3 separate regions of the Homo sapiens genome follow, and regions 1 and 3 are each linked to region 2. Evidence: promoter capture Hi-C in 16 types of primary human blood cells and fetal thymus (Javierre and others, 2016). All regions are on one chromosome and are shown on one strand. Each heading gives the region's core, a stretch centred on a gene start or on the middle of the fragment in contact. The rest is flanking DNA. Distances are from core to core; before and after follow the strand shown. Region 1 has its middle 22 kb from the start of LINC02458. Region 2 holds the start of LUM (lumican). Region 3 has its middle 46 kb from the start of LINC02458.

Region 1 (3,053 bases), core at 483-2,982, 2.1 Mb before region 2:
CAAAGTTTATTTGTAGCATATCTGTTCCAGACCAGGCGTCAGAAATACTTTTCAGTGTCCAAAAGGCATGTGGCAGGTTGTCTTAAATGAAAAAAAGGAGTTAGTTAAGTGAAGAAAGAACGTTCCAAACAGAAGGAGATGTAGTTGCCAAGGCAAAGGAACAAGAGAGATTGTAGCAATTTTCAAGAACTGAAAGCATTTGATCTGTCTGGAGCATTGCCTGCAAGCAGGGAGGTATAGAAGATGGAGCTGGAGGGATAATAGCTGGATCATGAGGGACTTCATTTGCCAATTTAAGGTCTGAACTGAATTCTGAGGCTTGAGGAGTTATTGATGCATAAAACACTGGGTCGCTTTAACTATAACATGGAACATAAAGTAGAGAGGGCATGACTACACAGAAATGTAAGCAGATGTTTTTGGGTGGGATTTACATAAAATCTCTTTAAGTGACCTTAATTTGGCATGAATTTTTTTTCTCTCCTCCATTTTATTGCTTTCTCCTTGGAATATGAATGTGATGGCTGGATTCCAGCAAACATCTTGTGACTTTGAGGAAGGAAGTGACATGGAGTGAGTGAGCAAGGAAAAAAAATGAGTCTGGATTTTTATGACTTTGTGCATTCATCTTACTAGTTATAGATCACCTACCTTTGCACTACCCCATCCCTTTTACTCTCTCCTTCCACAGAGTGAACCATGATCCTCTAACTGGTGTGCATCATCCCATAAATTTTTACTTTATTGCATATGAATCGAAAATAAATGTATCATTTTGTGTTATATTAATTAGGATGCATATTAAGCTTCTATAAAAAAGAAACCCCAAAATATAATGGTTCAAAAATTCCATGGCTCATAGAGTCCAGTGATAGGCTAGCAATTCAGGGCAGATGTCTTTACCCACAAGATTAGCCAAGATCTAGATTCCCTCTCTTGTTGCTGCATCATGACCTCGGGTGTCTTCATAGTTGAAGCTGGCATTCTTGCATTCTAGCCATTGGAAAGGGAAAAGAGAGGGAGGGTGGATGTGCAGCCCCCTTTCACATTTATGGATATAAAATTGAAGTTGTACACATAATTCTATTCACACCATATGGGGCAGAATTTTACTCATGGCTGTACCTAGCTTCAAGGGAGGCTGGATAATATCTGCCAGTATAACCATATACATTGCTGAATCTTGGGCAATGGGCTCTTCTCTCGTTGGAAGAGAGAAGGGTAGACTGGATTCTAAGCCAAAATTAGTAACTCGTAGGTTTTTAACATTTATATAAATTGACTGCATTGTGTGTATCTTTCAGTAATTAAGTTTTTTACATTTGATATTGCATTTTTTACATTTGTTCCTGTTACATTAAATAAATTTTAATCGCTTTAATAATTGTATTGCACTCATTCTAGGGATAAATCATACATTATCTGTTCATCTACTGGTGGATGAGATATAAAATTCTAGTAAACCCATCTTCTCTTGTAGTGTTGAACCAATACAAAATCAGTCTAAGCATGTGGGAAATTGCATTTAAAAATGGTGGCTTTCGAGTACACCATGAGGCAAGCTATTCCAGAGGTCATAGAATGGAGAGGTTTACTGGTCAAGTTAAGATGCTCAAATCACATGGCTTACTAAATTAATATAAAACATAGTAAGAAGAAAAGGGAAAGATATGGCATAAGTTAATACAGTTAGGATAGGATGCAAGCAAGATAAAGGGACCACGCTAGCTGAATCCTGTGTCTCTGTGGCACCAGTCTTCCCTCCTGATGATAGGGTTGTGAGGACCAGAGTTGAATTTTGAGGCAAGGGGGTCTCCAGATAAAAGGTGGCTGAGCCAACATATATTCTTGCTCTGTTGAAGAGACCCAGGGGCAATTAACCTGATAAGCAACTATAAATTTTTAATTGCTTTTCCTGGGCAGAGAACTTGTAGGGCCAGAATGGATGACCGATTTTAGACTTACTGCTGCTTCATGCATATCATCAGTATTAGGTGCTTCAGTGCCTCATATCTATTTAATGAATTATAAATATTTAGATCCTCTTCATTCTTCTTTACTTTTTATCTGTGTTTAGCACTCATATGCTCTAATTACTTTATCCATGTCTGTCATCTTACAGGTTACTGACTTATATATAATTAAACATATTAAATGAGTTTCATCAATCCCATTTGTATTTCCTATCTTCTACAACAGAATTGAATATTCTAAAATAATAAAAAAAATACATAGTGTAAGTTAGGGCAGACCTTTCCTATAAGAGGGGAAAGCCTTTACCACTAACTTCATGACATGGTCAAGAGTAATTGTCAGACCTCTTCCAAAGTAGAAGAGATGAAGACATGCCTGGTTTCTTTTTGCAAAATCACCCATATGGTAAATCACTTCACCTCTCCAAGTGCTAAGTGAGTGGATATAGAGAGGTCAGGAAGGTTATACAAATGCAGATAGTTCCACTTAAAAGACAACAGCAGCAGTATGGAATATTTCCCTCTCAAATGAAACTAGAATTCACAGATGAAGAACAAAAACATTACTGTTATAACCTACAAGGCTGGTATCAGGAAATGTAGCTTACATCTGGCAGAGAAGTGGGTTTCATAATGTTGAACTCCGGAATTAGGCTGACTTACTCACAGTCAGTACTGGACCGATACAAGCTTCACACATGGGGAAAAGATTTTCATGACTAAGATTAATGTGGCCCATAATCTTGAGAGCAACTGGGAGCAGTGTCAGTTCCCAGATTCACTTGCCCAGTTCCAGACCCCAAATCAATAGTCAGGTTATTCTCTCCTTATTGGGAGGAGCGAGTGAGGGTGGATGGAAATGAAGTATCTGGAGCAAAAAAAAAAAAAAAAAAAAAAAGTTCTTCCTGACAATTTCCAGTTTTTATCTTAATCTACTGGGTTTAACCATTAAAAGTATAATCAGACAAGGAGAAGATCATTCTATTAGGGTAGCCCCATTCCTATGTTTACAAGGCCTCTTTCTAACACCAACCATTACTCCTTTGGGTTCTTCTTGGAACCACTGCTAATGTAGAGAGC
Region 2 (2,725 bases), core at 164-2,663:
GTGCAGCAATTTAGATATGGGAAAATTGGAATATAAGAGTTAGACTTTTATAGAGTGAACAGTTGTGGCTGAGGCAAAGTTGGTAGCCCTGGGAGATAAATCATTAATGTGACGAAAGATCTACATTCTAATAGATAACTGAGAATATTATATCTTTCTATGAAAGTATGATTACAAGCTTTTGGATCAAAGTAGTTTGGGATAAGCAGGATCTTTGGGGTTAGAAACTGAAAACGTCTTTTATTTGTTTTAATTTGAAATTGTAAGGCACTTTATTTCAGATCAGATGGAACGTTATAAAACAGCTTTTAGAAATACTTTGATTGCTGACATAAGGTAACATGTAGCCAGATTCTCAGTAAATTACTCTCTAAGATTTTAATGGGGGCATTTAATTTTGCTGACAGAACTTGGCCATAATAATAATTGCATAGCACTAAAAAGAACGTGATGACATATTCCCAGAGTTATTTTAAGTTATAGAATGTAAATACTGTAAAGATTTGTCTTGCTTTATTAATAAGCTATTTTAAATTTACTATACACCAAAATATGGCAACTATAATGTGAGTATTAAATAGTAATGAAAAATGCTTCCATATTTTTTGGCAAAGTAAAAACAAGGATGCTGAATTGAATGAGAGTTTGCAACCATATAATGACTCCACTATGAGGCAAAATCACACTGTACTACCCTCAGTTTTTTCAAATACCTGTGGCTATAGAGAAAATGCTGTTTTCAAAAACGAAATCATTTCCCAGAACTTTTTAAAAAACTCGTTCCTTAAGGCATATATCCAAGAAACAAATTTTTTAAATTAACAAAACAGAAATAAATAATCCATAAGAGTTCCTAAATCTTTTAGCTCATGTTTTATAACATAGAACGTTTATTGTAAATTATAACAAATTGTCACAATATGCTTATTAAAAGATATTTTGAATGCTGATTAAAATGACTTTTCTTTGCTCCAGTATTAGGGTCCAATACTAACATATATAACTAACTAGCATACATAACAAACATATTAATTTCTATATTTTTTCACTGTGTCTACTTTAACTATTTTCTCATTCTAACCTTGAAACTTTTTATAACTTCTCTTGCCAAGCAATACAGCATATACTGTATAAAATCTCAAATCTATAAATCATGGAAAACATATTAACAAAATGTGAAACTAAATGCTCAGAACTGTGGATTTGCTGTTGAATAGCAATTGGCAAAATTGCTCTGGAATTTTTCCTGTTCCTGTTACAAAAAACGCTGTCCCAAACAGTTAACATCCCCAGTGCAATAGTTAAAACAGCACTTACCTTACTGTCTTGACACTGCTTTCGTTAATTCTTAAAGCAGATGCACTATGGACAAGAATCCACCAATATATGCTGTGAACTCTGTCAGGACGGAACTGGCTGCCAGATTCTGAGTGATACAAGAGCTGAAGGGGGGTGGGGAGACCCAGCCCAGTCACGCCAGTCTCTGAATGGAGTTATGTCATTGTGGGGATCTTGTGGTGTGGCATGTGAACACTGCTCTCTAACGAAGTGCAGGTGAACGTGGGGAGAAAGGACAGCCCAGCTCATTCCCTATGGAATGGGAGAGAGATATGTGTTTAACTAGCTCAAATACCATAGCTTTTAACCAAGAATTGAGTCCTGCTTCAAATAAGGAAGCTCACTGTGAGAACATTTTTCTTACAAGCCTCTTTACATCTGTGGCTGTGGCAACAATTAAGTGCAATGTGCTCAGCCAACTATCATGTTTATCTAAAGATCTCAGAAATCATAAGCAGGGCAAATAATTTCAGGAAAACGCAAATGAACAGACTCAGAGGAATTGAATCCCTTTGCCTATCACTTTTGAAATCAATATTGATTTACTTGGACTAACTTAATTTTTTGGCCATGAGGGTAGCTTACATTAGTTTTAAAAATATAAAATATGCTTCATATACACTTGGATACACATGATAAATATCAACATTTCAAGTTTACTTCTAATGCTAAGGAGACTCATTTTATGTTATTCAGGTCTGGAACCAATCAGCAAAGTCTTGCCTGTTTTTTATTTTGTGGATTTCGTTTAGGAATTCACCCAAAACCTTACTTGGGGAGAGCATTCTATAGCTTAATGCCAAAAAACATAAAAGAACAGAGAAAAAAATAAATTTATACTAAAAGTATCACAAGGCAAGAATCTTTCATTGCATGCTAGTAATTTTTTTTCAAAGTTAAAAGTTATTCAAAGTTATAATCTCCCAAAGGCCTGGCTGGATATATCTTTCATTATCAGCTCCTGATGCATGGTTTCAGCAAATGAGAGATGTACTTAAATCCTTGTCTATTTCATTTTGTGATTTTATCAGATATATTTATGAGATTTTTTTCTAAAATGTTCATTTCCTCATGTTTATAAGAACTTTTACACCAATATATTTTAATATAAGTTGTCACATTGTATTTTTGTCTTTAAAAATAACTATATCACATTTTAGCAGTGAGACTTGTGGAAAATTAACTCCATGACTAATACTGCATTTGTCCGAAAAAAAGACTATTAGAATAAATGGCTTATTTTTGTAATAGCAGTGTTCAAAAACAAAAAGTAATCTTCTTGAAAGTAACTAATGGAATTGTAAGATGATTCATAAACATAACATTTTTCCTAATATTATTTTAAGAAAATTATTGATAGGCCTCAGTTTCAACAAAGTAACTGAAT
Region 3 (3,158 bases), core at 297-2,796, 2.1 Mb before region 2:
GGAATGTAAGACAGAGTGTTAGGACCCAGGGACATTGATTTATGTGAACCTGTGTCAAGGAGGATTTAAATTAAAATTGTTTGAGTCTTGAATCAATCATCCCAGCCTACCCTTGGGCATTCTTATTCATACCTTACAGTCTACCTGAGATGGTGCTTTTCATGCTCAAAATACTTTCATCATTAGCTTATTATTATTATGTATTTAATACATTAAATATAATATTTAATATTTAATCTTATTAAAAGAAAAATAAAAATCATGCCCAAAGTACATTTTGGTATTTTGAAACACAACCTAAGAATCTATTTTCCAGTCATCTTCCTGGAGCTAGCTGGATCATAGATTCAAGAATGGCTCTTGGAGGTCAAAGGTTCCAAACCATTCTCATTTTGTGAGAATAGTAAGTCACAGTCCATGATAGGATCTTGATACAACATTGCTAAATTCTACTGCATCCTGAATAGAGTGTGACATAATTGCCAGTATCATCCATATGGTTCCAAGTGAATCTTAACTGAATGCCAAAACCCAGAAGTTGTATGCTGAGTAGGTGTAAGATAAATGTCATTACCTGATCTGTGCAGTAGCCTCCCAGGCCTCTATGAGACATTAGTAGTGTTTGACTTGTTGTCATTAAAGACAAAAAAAGGAAACTTTATACAGTATGTAGTGGTTTTCCAGGTTCCACGCAGCACGCAGGTTGCAAAGTGAGCCCAGCCTTACACCTACCCCATTGCCCTCTCACTAATTATTCATCAAGCTTATTTCCCAATCTGACTCCTCATTTCCATAACCTATTTTCCTCTTCACCTTTCTACCTCTCTGCTCCAGTTTTTAATTTTTTTTCCTTTCTCATTCTCTAATGCAAAAGTACATTTTGTCCCTAGATAGCACATTTTATATATTCAGGTTAATATTATTAGACTAAAACATTCCTCTTTACTATCATTGATCCCTAAAGCAATCCTGAAATGGCAACCCATTTAAAGCAGAACTCCAGTCTAGATGCAAAGGCAAGAATCCCCCAGCTACAAAAGGGGTACACTTTTCATTGTATTTTCAATTCATGTTATTCATCTTAGAAGCTATAGAGCCTTTTAAGAGCCTTTAACTGTATTTCTAGTGTCAGAGAACATTTAACCAAAAAGGCAATCTCTTCCTTTACATTTATGTCAAATTAAGTACTTGGTGAAAGTAACAGCCCTGGACAGGGAATCATGTTCTCAGGTGCACGTTTCTAGCTTGATATTGGCTGTGGGCTCACAAGCAATTTATTAAATTTTTAAAGCCTTGGTTCCCTCATCTGTAAGATGGGAATCCTAAAATGCCTACATTACTATCACTGGGCAAGTAAATGACACAATACACAGTTCCTTGCACATAAGGAAGACTTAAGAAATTAGTCACATTATTATTAGCATTATTATTATCATTAATAATACATTAACATTTACATAATGAAAGATTCACCAGCTAAAAAATAAATCTCCATGCGATTGGTTCAGTGTCCAAAATACAGGCTGGAAAAGAGAATCAGAAGGCAGGTGCTGGTTTGTGAAACTACAAATCCCAGAGAATAACAAAGTGTGATGAATAAGTTACGTGGTTAATAAACGTAGTTTGTGATTTGGTTAAATACGTGCCCCATTCTCAGGGACTCGGAGAAGAAATTCTATTTTGATTATCCCAGTTTGAATAGGAAACACAAGATAAATGGTTGATTCTTTCCCTTTATTTACCAGTTTAGCACATCGAATGTGATTAATAAGTTCCATAAATCTATCTTAATTTATAGGCATTTTCATTTTATTCTCTTGATACCTATTTGTCAGAAAGACTGAATCATTAGATCTTTTGAGATCTTTAAAATTTCCCTCAGTCAGGATTTTTCTAATTGCATCCCTGTGGTGTCATTAGGAGATTCCCATGTTCTCTATTTTTTCTGTCAACTGTTAAATCTAAGGCATGATCCGATTCAGATTTGATATTTTTTTTGCAAGGCTACCTTAGAGATGATGCACTGTTCCATCAGAAGTCACGTTGTCTCTCTTTTATTTTATAAGCTGTAATTGATGCCATGGTCTTGAGCCCTAATGGGGATCACTGGGGCTGGGGAAGAATGAGAAAAATATTGCAATTCTATCATTTCTTCACTTATTTCTTAAAATATTTCTATAATGAGAAACTTTCCCTTGCTTTCCATTTGGTTACTTAATGGTACAACATAGGAAACATAGGGTAAATGCTTAATCCTTCTCCCAACTTCTAAATTTTAAAAAGAATAAATTGGTTCTCCGCATTCTGAAGCTAGTACATTTTGTTGATGGTAAGCTTTCTTTTTTTTTTTTGGATAAGTATTATTATGAACCCATTGATTTAAATGTATTTAGTATTAAAGTCATTGCAGCTTACATCTTTATTGATAATCAGATTGCTTCATCTTTTTATGAAGTTGCATTTATTGTAATATATGGATACAGGTCCAGTTACTGAAAGAATAATCAGACAAAAATCAGCAGATAAAAAGAAATTGTAAAAATGATGACTAAGAGTTTACGTAGTCTTATATATAAAACACTGCTCAAACAACTATAGAATATATGGTTTTTCTTGTATAATTGGAATTGTTTTCTCTTTTGCCAGTGGATCTTCTTTAGGTTGATTCCTGAATCTTTTTAACACTACCTTAATAGTGTTTAATAGCCTCCTTGGTAAAATATTTCAAACTCATCTTGTACATTTCCTGTCCCAGGAATTGTGGTTTGCTTTAGTGGGAAATAGTATTTCAGAATAAAAATCCGAGTGTTAGAGGGCTTATTACTCTTTGGTTAACCATGGTTTCTAGGCCTTTTCATTAGACTAAGCTAGGAATTATTTTTAAGATAAATCACATCAAAATCCCTACTATATCTTCCAATTTAAATTCAAGACTACAGGATTTTTACTTAACCTCTTCTATCTTATTTCTGTGTCTCCTTTCTCCTATTTTGAGGATGACAAACCTGGCTCTCAAGGACACAGGGATAACTGAATTAAGCCATCACATAGCTACTCATTTGTCTGTTTCCAGATTATCACACAATAGTGGTAGAATAAAACACCTACTCGACCTGCAGTATTACTACAGTCACGTTACTGGGTTTTAAAACCATTTA

What was found. The method cuts DNA at HindIII sites, captures the fragments that hold promoters and counts their contacts. A CHiCAGO score of 5 or more calls a contact.
Region 1: a contact is called between a fragment that was not itself captured here and the fragment with the promoter of LUM in region 2, in 1 of 17 cell types (neutrophils). The highest score is 5.1, in neutrophils.
Region 3: a fragment that was not itself captured here is called in contact with the fragment with the promoter of LUM in region 2 in 1 of 17 cell types (neutrophils); the score reaches 6.5 in neutrophils.

Annotation. Positions count from the first base shown.
Region 1 is chr12:88,996,011-88,999,063 of GRCh38, forward strand. No RefSeq gene overlaps it. Among named protein-coding and RNA genes, the nearest start is that of LINC02458, 22 kb to the right of the region's middle. The HindIII fragment of the contact is 1,857 bases long and covers 805-2,661 here.
Region 2 is chr12:91,110,081-91,112,805 of GRCh38, forward strand. LUM (lumican) reads right to left here and starts at 1,414. Exons shown (of 3, transcript NM_002345.4): 1 at 1,318-1,414. The HindIII fragment of the contact is 5,015 bases long and covers 177-2,725 here.
Region 3 is chr12:88,971,659-88,974,816 of GRCh38, forward strand. No RefSeq gene overlaps it. Among named protein-coding and RNA genes, the nearest start is that of LINC02458, 46 kb to the right of the region's middle. The HindIII fragment of the contact is 1,571 bases long and covers 762-2,332 here.